Regions from separate parts of the Homo sapiens genome. Here regions 2 and 3 are each linked to region 1. Evidence: promoter capture Hi-C in human tissues and cell types (Jung and others, 2019). All regions are on one chromosome and are shown on one strand. Each heading gives the region's core, a stretch centred on a gene start or on the middle of the fragment in contact. The rest is flanking DNA. Distances are from core to core; before and after follow the strand shown. Region 1 holds the start of CCDC177 (coiled-coil domain containing 177). Region 2 overlaps SLC10A1 (solute carrier family 10 member 1). Region 3 has its middle 23 kb from the start of SRSF5.

Region 1 (4,623 bases), core at 627-3,126:
GGGAAGCCTTGCGGGCCGCACGCGGCGCGGGCGAGGCCGGGAGGCTGGCGCTGCTGCAGCTGCTGCTGCTGCCCGCGCTCGGGGCCGAGGCCGCGGCGGCGGCGGCGGCGGCGGCGGCCGCGGGGCTCAAAGGCGTGAAAAGACGCCGCTTCTCCTCGCGCATGATGCGCTCGCGCTCGGCCCGGCATTGCTGCAGCTTGGCGCGCCGCTCCGCCTCGTAGGCCTCATACAGGCCGGTGGCCACCCGCATGGAGCGGCCCGGAGCCTCTCGCACCAGGTCGGCCAGGGCCCGTGGCAGCAGCTCCACCGGCTTGACCGCACAGCGGGCGCAGGCCTCTAGCGAGCGGGGGCTGGTCAGCACGTAGCGGCTGCCCTCCGCCTCTGGGCAGTCGAAGTTGAAGAGGTCGAGGTGCAGCAGCGGGGACTGCTCCCGCCGCCCGCCTTCTGCGGCTGCACATGGGACTTCTGCCTTGCGGGGCACCGCCGCGGAGGCCGAGGCCGAGGCCGAGGAAGCTGCGGGCTCCTGTGCGCCCTGGGAATCAGGGGGCACGGACGCCACGGCCTCGTCCCCTCCAGAGTCGCCGGGTTCCGCTCCTGCCTTCTCTTCTTCAGGCACTGGGTCCACCATGGCTGAGCCCCGTCCTTTGTTGGAATCTCTGCAGATCACAAGGAGGGACATCGAGGAATACGTCTGAGAGCTCTTCCCCCCTCCTCATCCATAGTCACCCCATCCCAACTTAATCCGCTTTCGGATTAGGCTCAGAGGCTTTGGTGGAACGTAAATCATAAAACCGATGTCGGAAAGCCCAGGCTGAGCGCCAGAACGGGGATGGGGGTGGGGCGGACACTCGTGTTCAGAGAGCAGCCTGGGTCTCCCTCAGCCCCGGAATGCGGGGTGGAGGCCTGTGGCGAGGCTCCTCTGGGCGCCTAGCCCGCTAGATGCATCCCCTTTCTGCTGCAAGTTAAGATGAAAAGATCCAGGTGCAGGCAGGAGCTAGAGAGGGAGGCGCTGGAGGATTCCCGGGAGGATTAGCGTATTTGTTTGTAGCTTAGGCGGGCTACTGGGGATGCAGCTTTGCAGGAACAAAAAAGCAAGAGGCCTGTTCATCCCAAGGGACCCCATTTGCCTAAGGGAAGAAGTTTATGGTTGATTTCCCCTGCCAAAGGAGACTCGGTCGCAAGGCCCCCGGGTGATTAAAGGGCTGGGAGAAGTCCCCAAAGGCCTCTCCGGGAGGGGTGATGGATTCTTGCTCCAGCAGCTCTGGCAGGGCTTACTGAGGGCTCTGCACGCCGCCTCCGCCCCCACCTCCACCCCCACCGGGTGTTTGCTGGGGATGGAGAAGGTGCCTGGATACTCTCAGACGCACCGGATCTCCTCCAAGTCTGAATGTGCTAAAGATACCATCCACCCCAGTCGGGGTTCAGATACCCGCCCTCGGGTGCCCTCCGAGTTCCCCCACAGCATCCCAGTGGGTGGGCTCCTGGAGTGCAAAGAACCTGGCCGCCCAGGTTCCCGCAGCTCCCGGTACCCGAGCCGGTTTACTCACCCCGCGTCCTGGGCTTCGGCCCCGCGCCAAGGGCTTTTGTTCGCAGCTCGCCGCTGTCCCCTGCGCTTCTTCAGTCTCTGCGCCGGCGGGGTCGGGTTACTGCCGGCTGCAACCGTGAAAGGAGCCCCATCTGCCGCCGCCAGCGTCTCTCCATGGGGTCTGCGAACAGGGCGCACGCACCCCAGATGCTACCTACACGTGGGAGGGGGAGTGCGACAATGTCTCCCTAAAATAACGCGGCTCTGCACCCTTCCCTCACATTGATTCTTTAAAAAAGAAGCCCGGTTCCGTCGCTGCGGCATCCCTCTACACCTCTACAACCGTGGAGGTACCGCAGGTCCCACGCTGCCCCCTGCGCCTCCTGGCGGACACTCGAGGGTGCTGGTTTGTTTGCTTCGAGGACGAAGGAGAAATTTTTGTTTAAATGTATATATGTACATATATACACACATATAATATGTATATATATACACTACACACATACAGGTAGATGTAGGTATAGATATGGATAGATATCGATATATAAATCACCAAGAAACCCTAGTCTTTCAGCAGCCTAACTGGGTAGAATGAAGGAATTGCTCAGCTTGTTTCTAAAGGAAACCCTGAGGAGCAAACAAACTTGATAGCGAATAATTGGGTGGAAATATGGCGCCTGATGCAAATTGTGATTTTTTTTTTTTCAATGAAAAACTAAAAACAGGCTGGGCAAGGTGGCTTACACCTGTAATCCCAGCACTTCGGGAGGTCGAGGCCAGTGGATTACTTGAGTCCAGGAATTTGAGACCAGCCTGGACAACATAGCGAGTCCCCATCTCTAAAAAAATTTTCAAGAATTAGCTGGGGTGGTGTCCTGTGCCTGTAGTCCCAGCTACTCCAGAGGCTGAAGTGGGAGGATCACCTGAGCCCAGGAGGTTGAGGCTGCGGTGAACCATGACTGCACCACCGCACTGCAGCCTGGGTGACAGAGTGAGACCCTGTCTCAAACAAAATAAAACAAAATAAAAACAAACAAAAACTAAGAACACTTATGGGTTTGACGCAGGTGGAACATATGTAACTGGTGTTTAATGCAACATTTTATGACTTCCTGGTTATAGATAATAACAATTATAACCAGTTAGTGCCATACAATGAGTGTTATTTTGAGACATCTCCTGCCCACCTCTTTTCCATTTTGAGTGATAGTGGCCGTAGGAGACAGACCGGAGGAGTGCTTGATGGAGGGAAGTCGAGGAGAGGATGGGACATAACATTAGAGGGAATATTGAACTATGCATTAAATAACCTTGGCTGGGTGTGGTGGCACACACCTGTAATCCGAGCACTTTGGGAGGGCGAGGCGGATGGATCACTTGAGATCAGGAATTCGAGACCAGCCTGGCCAACATGGTGAAACTCCGTCTCTACTGAAAATACAAAAATTAGCCGGGTGTGGTGGCATGCAGCTGTAATCCCAGCTACTCAGGAGGCTGAGGCAGGAGAATCGCTTGAACCTGGGAGGCAGAGGTTGCAGTGAGCCGAGATCTCACCACTGCACCCCAGCCTGATGACAGAGCGAGACTCCATCTCAAGAAAAAAAAATTAAATTTTAAAAAATAACCTTGACATTGTCAGGTAGACTGTGAGGAGAAAGTGAAGGGTTTTAAGTGGGGAAATGACATGATTTGGTTTTTATTTTAGGAACATAACTCTGGCAACAGTGAAGTGGAGGCTTTACAAAGGCCAGGGCCAAGAGGAGGCAGGAAGCCCAGTTAGCTGGACACTGTGGTCACCCCAGGCAGGAAGGATTGGGGCCAGAGAGGAACAGTGGCAGGAGGAATACAGCACATAGTGATGGGGAGGGCCAGGGAAGGATGGTTTCCTTTTCGGACCTCTTGATTGAGGTGGAGCTGCTCAGCAGGTGGCTGATAAGTTGTGTCAGAGATCTGGACTGGAGCTAGAATTAGGACATCGTGACCCTATACCTGGTTCCTAAAACCAACAGTGTGAGTGAGATCACTCAGGGAGGGCAGGTGGAGCAATGAGAGAGGCTGGCAGGGCATGGATAGGGCTGCTAAGGGAAAAGGAGTGCACGAAGGGGACCAACAAGGAGTGCAACAAGGACAGACAGCAAAGTGTGGTCTTGTGTGAGCTACCAGTGGGGCACTGCAGAAGGAGAGTGTGCCCCTTGTGTTAAGGGCTGCAGAGGTCCAGGAGGTTTCACCTGGAGTCAAATACCCACTGAAACTGGCAGTTATGAGTCTTGGGTGACATTGGCAAAAACAGCTTAGTATTGCACTAGGGCAGATGCCAAGTGCAGGAAGCTGAGGTGCAATGGGAGGTGAGAATTACTGATGCTTTTGACATTCAGGTAGTAGTTTTAAGAACACGAAGCCTTTGGAATTTTACCCTACTTACATACTAACAGGTGAGCCTGCCACTGTTCTGTATATGCTGGCAGAAGACAGGAGACTCCAGGGTCAGAAACCACTGACTTTGTTACTCATGGCACAGCAGGCAGCATGAGATCATGCTTTTGTTGGCTCCCCTTGCTCCATGTGTCCCATGGGTCATAGACAGGTAGTGAATTAGGTAGAGATTAGTAAACCCTAAACTTCTCAACAGGGCTACTAGCAAACCTGCTCAACCATTGCCCCAGTGACAGCATTATCTTTATTATCCTGGACTGCAAACAAATCTCCCTGCTTCCCTGGAGGGAGATTCTATCTCTATCATCCTTGAAAAACAGTCCAGCTGGGCATGGTGGCTCCTACCTGCAATCTGGCACTTTGGGAGGCCAAGGCGGGAGGATTGGCTGAGCCCAAGAGTTTGAGACCAGCCTGGGCAACATAGTGAGACCTTGTCTTTACAAAAATTAATAAAATTAGCCAGGCGTGGTGGTGCACACCTGTAGTCCCAGATACTCTGGAGGCTGAGGTAGGAGGATTGCTTGAGCCTGGGTGTTGGACACTGCAGTAAACTGTGATTGTGCCACTGCACTCCAGCCTCTCACTCTAGGGAACAAAGTGAGACTCTGTCAAGAAAGGAAGGATGGCTGGGTGCAGTGGCTCACGTCTGTAATCTCAGCACTTTG
Region 2 (4,623 bases), core at 1,222-3,721, 200 kb after region 1:
TATAAAAACTTGACAGATTCCTCCCCCCTGAGAATAGCTTCTTGGGGCCATTAGGTCCAAAGAAATACGTTGCTTTGATTTAGTGTTTCCACTGGGGTCTTCTGAGATACACTGTGAGGAAAGTTCTTTTCAAGTCTTGAGAGCTAAAGATCCATAGAGTATTGTCCTTTGAGGTCACTTCAGGTCTTTCTGGTACTAAAACCTCAAATCTGGGAATTTGGTTGGTCTAGAAACTTCTGTGCACTTTTTGTAAGAGGGCAGCAAATCTCTTGCGTTCCTCTCAGATAAGCATCAGAGTAGATTCTTTCTCACAACTCTACTGTAGCTTTGAACCAAAGCTTCTAAAATGGTTCTAGTGTATGGTCAGCCTGTACTTGTTTCGTGTTGGCTGCTTGGCAACCTAATTACATCTTAGCTAATTGCAAAGGGAGAGAGAATCGGCATTTGCTTGCTAGTATAATGTAACAAATTCCAATAGGGAAAGTTGTGTATTTCTCCTAGGGTGTAAATCACAGTCCCTAGGGTCTAGAAAGGTTTTGAAGGGGACTTCAATTCATGGACATGAAGGGACAGTTGAAGGATTTGGGTAGGTACTTAGGAAGAATATACTAATGTTGAGAGTTATAATGAAATGTGTTATAAAGTGGGTTTGAATGTCCTGTTTTTTTTTTTTTTTTTTTTTTTTTTTAAAATTGGTGTTAAAGTGCACTTTGAGGAAGGCACTCTGTTCTCTGGTCTGTCTTGAGGTTCAATTTTATTTTGAAAGGTAATACTCTGAGCATTTTAGAGAAGAGATGCTATGTTAACCCCATAGTGATCAGAGTAAAGTATAAATCATATTAAGTTTATTGTGGAGGTAGTTACTGTTTAACAACCGTATGCTTAAGTTTCCTTTACTGCGTAACTAGAGTTGAGGAATCTTTTTTTTTTTTCTTTATTCTGGGTTATATTAGGGTGCATTGCTTTCATATGTTTTTCCTCATACGGAGGTGCCAGTGGTGCTGTGGCTCTGATCTGGTTCCAGGAAATGAGAACCTAGTCCTGAGAAATGGAAACTTCCCCAACTCTTGCGAATAGAGGCCTTTCACACAACTAATAACCTCAGTTGTCCAAGGCAGTTTTGTCCTATGATGTCTCCCCACTGAGACAAAGCAGCCCAAATTGCTTCAGTTTTATGAGGTAAACTGCATCTGCAATTTCATTCTCCCAGCTAGAAGGAAGAAATGGAGTGCAGTTGATGGAAGTAGTCTTGGATCTTTAATGCTTCTTGGGTGCTTCTTGGGGCTACCTGGTTCTTAGTGACTTGATAAGAGTTAAAGCCCTATCCAAAAAGTCCCTGCTAGAAACTTGCTTGTTGGCAGGCTCAGGTCTAATATTGGAGCAGAACTTGAAGTGGGGATAATTTCAGTACTCACCCTTGGGAGTCTTGAATTTCTCATAGCACCAAAATATGGCAATGAGGAGAAGCCCTTCTCCAAGCTGGAAAATCATGTAGAGGAGGGGAAAGAAGAAAAGTGGTCCAATGACTTCAGGTGGAAAGGCCACATTGAGGATGGTGGAACAGAGTTGGACATTTTGGCATCCAGTCTCCATGCTGACAGTGCGTCTGCACCTGTGCCGGTGAAGAAAACCCCACATACACTCAGAGGGAACTGGAGGGAGCAACTTTGTCCCAGTGCTGCTACCAAAGAGTTTCGCAGCAGATGGAATCTAGACCCTGGACAGGGGTACTTTGCTATTGCTGCTGGTGTTTGGATACCTTTGGTGTCTGGATTTTTAACCCGTTCAATACCTTCATTCAATTTTTTTCAAGTCTAAAGTCTCTTGTCCAGTTAGTGCATCTGAACATATTGCCAGGAAAGTGTCTTGCCCAGATTTCAGGTTCCTAGCTTCTTATTCGTTTCCTGAAAGACTAGGACAAGAATGAAGCCCATGGGACAGTGGGACCTAAAATAATACCTATCTCCAGGCATGCAGTGGCTCACACCTGTAATCCTAGCACTTTGGAAGGCTGAGGCAGGTGGATCACTTGAGCTCATTAGTTCAAAACTAGCCTGGGCAACATGGTAAAACCCTGTCTCCAGAAAAGTTAAATCAGCTGGTCATGGTGGCTTGTGCCTATAGTCCCAGTTACTTGGGGGGCTGAGGCAGGAGGATCAGTTAAACCCTGGAGGTTGAGGCTGCAGTGAGCTGAGAATGTGCTACTCCCCTCCAGCCTGGGCAACAGAGTGAGACCCTTTCTTAAAAAAAAAAAAAATACCTACCGTCCATTGAGGCAGAAGAGAGCAGAGAGAACATAACCCAGCAGAAAGCCAATAAAAGGCATCAGGGAGGAGGTGGCAATCAAGAGTGGTGTCATGGCAAACATGATGCTCTTCCCCACATTGATGGCAGAGAGAACTGTGACGGCCACACTGCACAAGAGAATGATGATCATCCCTCCCTGGGAATGAAGACAAGAAAAGGCAATTAGAAGAGTTGGGGATAGAGAGGAACAGAGGTGGGGAAGCACAGGTAGAAATTGGAGGTGGGAAACATTGCAATAAAACACTGGAAGTGGAAAGGAATATGAAAGACCTTTATCTTCTTTTTGGATTCCTTTCTTTAAATTTTTTTAAAATTATTAACATTAGAGACAGGGTCTTACTATGTTGCCCAGGCTGGTCTTACTCCTGGACTCTTAGCGGTCCTCCTGCCTTGGCCTTCCAAAGTGCTGGGATTACAGGTGTGAGCCACTGCACCCAGCCCATCTTTTTAGATTTCGTATCAGTAGCTAGGAAGCTTGGGGACAGCTGATTAACACTTTGATTATTACAAACTCAGCCAAGCACAGTTACTGCTTTTGACACATCTCTGGATAGCAGACTTTCAGTGAAGTGTTACGTGAGGCTATTCAGGACTCCTGCAAAATGGATATTATTTAAAAGTCAAGTATTTTTGGAACTTATATACACATTCCTACAATACTGTCATTGTTCCACATACTTTGAAACTCATGAGAACTTGTCATACATATTTGTCTCAAATACCTTGATTACAGATAGGGATTTTATCCATTTTAGGATCAATTCTGGAAATTGCCAAGAGTCATTTGAAACAAAGCTGGTAAACAAGGTGGATGATCAAGCCCGGAAATACGGTTTTAAACCCAAAATGATGTCTAATAATAAGGGGACAAACCTACTTTCTTGAGTGACCTGCAAATTGAATATGAAGGAAGTTCCCAAAAGAACTTTCAGAAATATCTTGGGTGATAACAACATCATTGGAAACTATGCAGGTCTACTCTGAATGAAATTATAGGGTTTTTCATTGTGCAACATAGGATGCAACCTTTCAAAGTGCATGTGCACTCCATGCACTTTGTACTTTCCAGTGTGCATTTTAGAGAATTGCGTCCTCCAAAATGATAAACAGGTATGTGTAAATTTAAGACTGTCCCTTTTATCTCCTGAGTAAAGAAATACTTAACTTTTCTCAAACTTACCATGTTATTTTGTAATAGTTACATGTGTTGGTTCATTTTTTGGTTCATTCACATGTGTTGCATTTTATATTTCCTAGTAACATTTTAAAAAAGTAAAATATGTATAGCAAAGTTTGCCATTTTAATCACTTTTGAGTGTACAGTTCAGTGGCATTAAGTACATTCATAATGTCCTAACGACATTTTAACATTTATATTGCTCAAATTTCAGCTGCACAGCTTTGTGTTTCTGTTTTTAATACTTGTTGCAACTGATATGATCATATAAAACATCACCTATACCAATTAGTGGTCCTATCCCAGCATAGGAAGGACTTTCACACATCTCTTGAATAACCATGTGCTTCAAGTTTTATTAAAAGACTTATTAGCTAATGAACTTCTCAGTTTACCTTTGCATTTTTAGTTGATTTCCCCTTTTAGATTTCTGTCTTTCGAATTTGTCCTTTACCCAACAGTCAAATAATTTTTAATCTCTATCAAGAGTGGAGTGGATAATGTAGGAGACATTGAGTTACAGGAATTGTCCACGAATCCAGAAGCCCTCTTCTTCTGTATAGGCATTCACTCTTATTCTCTCACTCATGTTCTCTGACTCTTGGGGACTGCACAGTTGTGGTTATGAGCACATAATTTGATATGATCCTGGTGGGAAAGCTGCCTCTGCTAGTCTCCAGGTGTGTAAGCTCTGGGGAGTCACTCAACCTGAGTGAGGTTGACGGCATAGGACCTGGCATATAAGAACCGCTCACTAAACTGTAACTCCTGTTATTACTCAAAGGGGAGGAATTAACATTCTAGAGGTTCCTGTCACTCTCACTGCTGCCATCTCTGGAAATTTATCCTGTCTACAACCCCTGTCTCCTGCTGAGACAAGTGGCCCCGGGTAGTTGCTTCTCCATAGGCTACCACATTTTGTACCACCTGACTTCATTGCCCTGCTCACAACTGGGATGAGTGCTCATTCATGGGCAGCCAATCCATTGGCTTACACATGAGATGACATGTCCACAGTCTACCCACAAAGGTGGCCCGCACAGGCTGGTGAGTGGTAGAAATAATCAGATTCTCTCATTTAGGAAGTTTGCAGGATTACAGAGAGGGAAGCAATAGCAGGGACAAGTGTCAGAACAGAG
Region 3 (4,623 bases), core at 807-3,306, 170 kb after region 1:
AAAAATAGCTCAAAGAAAACCCAACACCATTTCATATTTGACAATGCTTCCTGTATAATTTTTGTATCAAATAAGCCAAATTATGGTTTTTTTTGGACTTTAGGGAACCTAAATATCTTAAAGGACTAATTAGGTCAGAAAAAAGACATAATTTATAATCCAATTTTGGAAAGTTTGTCAAATATCAAAGGTTTTAAACACTTGATATCACAAAATAGGATCACAGGTCATTGTAAAATAAGTCATTCATTTAACCAAAGTGATAACTCAAGGATTAAAAAAAAAAAAAAGGAGAAAACCTTTATTCTTTGAGACAGACAACTAAATTTTCCAAACAATAAGCCCTAATAAAAACAGCATGGGCCAGGCGTGGTGGCTCACACCTGTAATCCCAGCACTTTGGGAGGCCGAGGCGGGAGGATCACAAGGTCAAGAGATAGAGACCATCCTGGCCAACATGGTGAAACCCGGTCTCTACTACTAAAAAAAAATACAAAAATTACCTGAGTGTGGTGCTGCGCACCTGTAGGCCCAGCTACTCGGGAGGCTGAGGCAGGAGAATCACTTGAACCCAGGAGGTGGAGGTTGCAGTGAGCCGAGATCACGCCACTGCACTCTAGCCTGGCAACAGATCGAGACTCTGTCAAAAAAAACAAACAAACAAACAAAAAAAAAACCAGCATGAAACCAAACTTTTATAAACAATCTATAAAATTTTAATCTTGACCATAAGATATAACTTCCATAAACCTTTTATAGCCTTTATAACCTTTATTAAGGAGTTGGATAATGCTTCAAGAAAACCTTGTTAATCTGACATAGGCCCATATGCTGGTCTTGCATCAGTGTGCCTTTAACATTAATGATTAATTTATAGAGAAACTGAACTTATTTTATCATTCAAAATTGGCGCTTATAATCTTAGGTGCCTACCTCTTCCACAATAGTCCCTGGGCCTTGAGGAGTTGAATAACTTCAATTTCTTGCCCTATGTCTCAGGAATGCAGTTTACTTTGATTGGCATCTTCTATGGGGCCTAAAGATGAGGCTTTAATTGCTGTCAGTGTTTAAGATTTAGCAGGACTTGGTGTCTTTTTTAGACTCAGGAATCAAAGCCCTGTAACTCAATGTCACAAGGACTTTAAAAGCACATACAGGAAGATACATGGATGTAATAACCTTAATTGAGAAGATTTGTTTGTTTGTTTGTTTGTTTTTGAGATGGAATCTCACTCTATTGCCCAGGCCAGAGTGCAGTGGCATGATCTTGGCTCACTGCAACCTCTGCCTCCTGGGCTCAAGCAATTCTCCTGCCTCAGCCTCCCGAGTAGCTGTGATTACAGGCGCACACCACCACGCCCCACTAATTTTTGTATTTTTAGTAGAGATGGGGTTTTCCCAGGTTGGCCAGGCTGGTCACAAACTCCTGACCTCAAATGATCCATCCACCTTGGCCTCCCAAAGTGCTGGGATTAGAGATGTGAACCATGCACCAGCCAAGAAAAATTTTTTTATCTCAGTTTTTTTCCTAAGTGAACCAAAACTTAATAATAAGATGACAACTTGATCATATTAAAGTTTTTGCTTTTCAATATAAATCCTCTTATTGTGACTTACACTGACCATTTGTGACACGCTTGGACTTTCTGGTTTGTGCTGAACATCCCTCCTTCTTAAACAACCATTTTATTTTAGGATTAAATTTACCATACGAGATTCTTTCTCATATAAAATTATTTCGCTTTAAGCTTTCTTACCACAAAAAATACCTCTTTATTTTTATTATTTTTTATTTATTTATTTTTTGAGAAGGAGTCTTGCTCTGTCGCCCAGGCTGGAGTGCAGTGGCGTAATCTTGGCTCACTGCAAGCTCTGCCTCCTGGGTTCATGCCATTCTCCTGCCTCAGCCCCCGAGTAGCTGGGACTACAGGTGCCTGCCACCAGGCTGGCTAATTTTTTGTATTTTTAGTAGAGACGGGGTTTCACTGTGTTAGCCAGGATGGTCTCGATCTCCTGACCTCATGATCTGCCTGCCTCAGCCTCCCAAAGTGCTGGGATTACAGGTGTGAGCCACCGGGCCTGGCCAATACCTCTTTATTTTTATAACTTTCTTTACATCTCTTTATTTTCTGGTTCCTTTTACCTTGTTTCATACATAACCTTTAAGTTAGCTTTGAATTAGAAAAAACTTGTACACCTTTTTAAAAAAAGGATACACTTTTTTTTTTTTAGCAAGAATGTTTTCCTACAATATATATTTATTGGAAAATACCCAAATAATGAAATCTCTGTTACTTAACTTTGTATCCTAAATTCTGACCAGTTTATCTATAAGTATTCATCCCATTACATTTACCTAATTATTTTAATTGTTTACTTAGATTATTTATGAAAACTGTGATATGATTTAAAGTTATGAAACCACCATTGCAAAGTTATAACTGAGACAGTGAAAAAAGATTTGACCTAACTGACTCCATCTTGCTCTTAACCTCCAAGCTGTCCTTGTTCATTCCTGGATATAGGCTGAACTAACTTTAAGAGGAACTTAGTTTATAGTTTAGCTTTGAAACAAAGATGGTAACAGTCCTTTCCCAAAACAAACCTCCTCATTGCCTGTGGACTAGGTTGCCTAGAGCTACAAGATCAGAAGTTATGGAAATCTTACTAAATTTAAGATGCAGATATTTTCATTAAAGCAATATAAATGTCTTATTTATTAAAAATCACACAAGCAAAGACCATTCTGTTTTTGGCTCAGTTTATAGTTTTGCTATAACCCCTGTGCCAAGTTTTGACACCTTCTATTGTTTGGCAGGGATAAGTATGAAATTGCTTGATTAATAAATGCAAACAAAGATGTACGCTGGCAATTCTTTTTGAGACGGATTTTTGCTCTTGTTGCCCAGGCTGCAGTGCAATGGTGCAATCTCAGCTCACTGCAACCTCTGCCTCCTGGGTTCAAGTGATTCTCCTATCTCAGCCTCCTGAGTAGCTGGAATTACAGGCACCTGCCACCATGCCCAGCTAATTTTTGTATTTTTAGTAGAGATAGAGTTTCACCATGCTGGCCAGGCTGGTCTCGAACTTCTGACCTCAGGTGATCCGCATGCCTTGGCCTCCCAAAGTGCAGAGATTACAGGTGTGAGCCACCACACCCAGGCTGTATGCTGGCAATTAAGACATTTCTAATATTACTTTACCAATAATTTTAAAGCTAGCTTATTCATTAAAGATTTTACTTAAGTTACATAAATTTAAAAAAGCATTTGACTAGTCTTTTCTTTTTTAGTAGCACTTTAATTTTTTTAAGCCAATTAATTAGAGCTCTTTTATGTATTATTTTAGTAGTAAAACATTGTGTATATAACACATAAATACACAGACATATTCGACATGCCAATGGAAGCACATTTTACAGATTCATAAAAATGCTTTTGGCTGGGCGTGGTGGCTCACACCTGTAATCCCAGCACTTTGGGAGGCTGAGGCAGGTGGATCACGAGGTCAGGAGTTCAAGACCAGCCTGGCCAACATGGTGACACCACATCTCTACTAAAAACACACACACAAAAAAAATTAGCGGGTGTGGTGGCACGTGCCTGTAATCCCAGCTATTCGGGAGGCTGAGGCAGAGAATTTCTTAAACCTGGGAGGCAGAGGTTGCAGTGAGTCGTGATTGTGCCACTGCACTCCAGCCTGGGCGACAGAGCAGTGGCTGGGGGTGGGGGGGTGCGGGGCGGGGAGGGGTTTCTTTTTTTTTTCCCTATCTTCGACTTTCAGATTCTTGGTAACCTGTTTTACAACCCTGGGCAGTTGTCAGCTAAATAGCCTTAAATTTGCATATTAAGGGAAGTCAAATAGTAAAATTTACATTATAAGGTGCAGAGAGAAAAATTTGGATTATAGAAATTATAAAGGCCTTTTAAATACACACACACACACACACACACACACACACACACACACACACACACACACACACCCTGCAGCTTTTATTTCAGAGCTTTTAGCCATGAGATAAATACAAATTTACTGGCTTGCAAAAAGAACTTGTTGGATCTAAACAATGGTTTTGTCTTAATAGAAAAATAACAGCAGATTTAGAGCAGGCAGAAAAGGACAGAGAAAAAGAGGACTTAGGAACTCTGTAGTTTGCAGGTCAACCTTAGGGCTCTTTTTCCTTAATATAAATGTGCACAAAGATCTTATTATTTTCATTTTACATAAACTTTGGCAAGTAGAGGTGCCATAAAATCTATGGAGTGCTGAAAAGGGGGTCATTCTCCTTGTTTTCTCCTCATTTTTAGATTGTTTCACGCTTCTTTTTATTTCTTAAAAGGAGCACCTGAGCTGTGGTCTAGGGTTTTTGTGTGGTAGATTGACATGTGCTGCTTGTTGGCAGGACTCCAGAGTCTGTCACCACTGAGTCGTTTCCATCCCTTTACGTGTCTCAGTTTCTCTCTCGAGAGGTCTATGACCTTGGAGAGGGCTCAGAATGCTGTGTCATCAGCCCTGATATACATTTCCTGGACAAGCCTTTTTTTTTTTGAGACGGAGTCTCACTCTGTTGCCCAGGCTGGAGTGCAGTGGCGCGATCTTGGCTCACTGCAACCTCCACTT

What was found. Contacts are between HindIII fragments. The study calls those that stand out against the background at their distance.
Region 2: a contact is called between a fragment that was not itself captured here and the fragment with the promoter of CCDC177 in region 1, in 1 of the 25 tissues and cell types used here (spleen).
Region 3: a contact is called between a fragment that was not itself captured here and the fragment with the promoter of CCDC177 in region 1, in 1 of the 25 tissues and cell types used here (dorsolateral prefrontal cortex).

What each region holds. Positions count from the first base shown.
Region 1 is chr14:69,572,995-69,577,617 of GRCh38, forward strand. It overlaps CCDC177 (coiled-coil domain containing 177), which reads right to left and starts at 1,877. Exons shown (of 2, transcript NM_001271507.2): 1 at 1,548-1,877; 2 at 1-656. The coding sequence starts at 628. The HindIII fragment of the contact is 5,538 bases long and covers 1-3,491 here.
Region 2 is chr14:69,776,918-69,781,540 of GRCh38, forward strand. It overlaps SLC10A1 (solute carrier family 10 member 1), which reads right to left. Exons shown (of 5, transcript NM_003049.4): 3 at 2,265-2,443; 4 at 1,416-1,612. Among named protein-coding and RNA genes, the nearest start is that of SRSF5, 12 kb to the left of the region's middle. The HindIII fragment of the contact is 5,075 bases long and covers 1-4,623 here.
Region 3 is chr14:69,742,064-69,746,686 of GRCh38, forward strand. No RefSeq gene overlaps it. Among named protein-coding and RNA genes, the nearest start is that of SRSF5, 23 kb to the right of the region's middle. The HindIII fragment of the contact is 9,492 bases long and covers 1-4,623 here.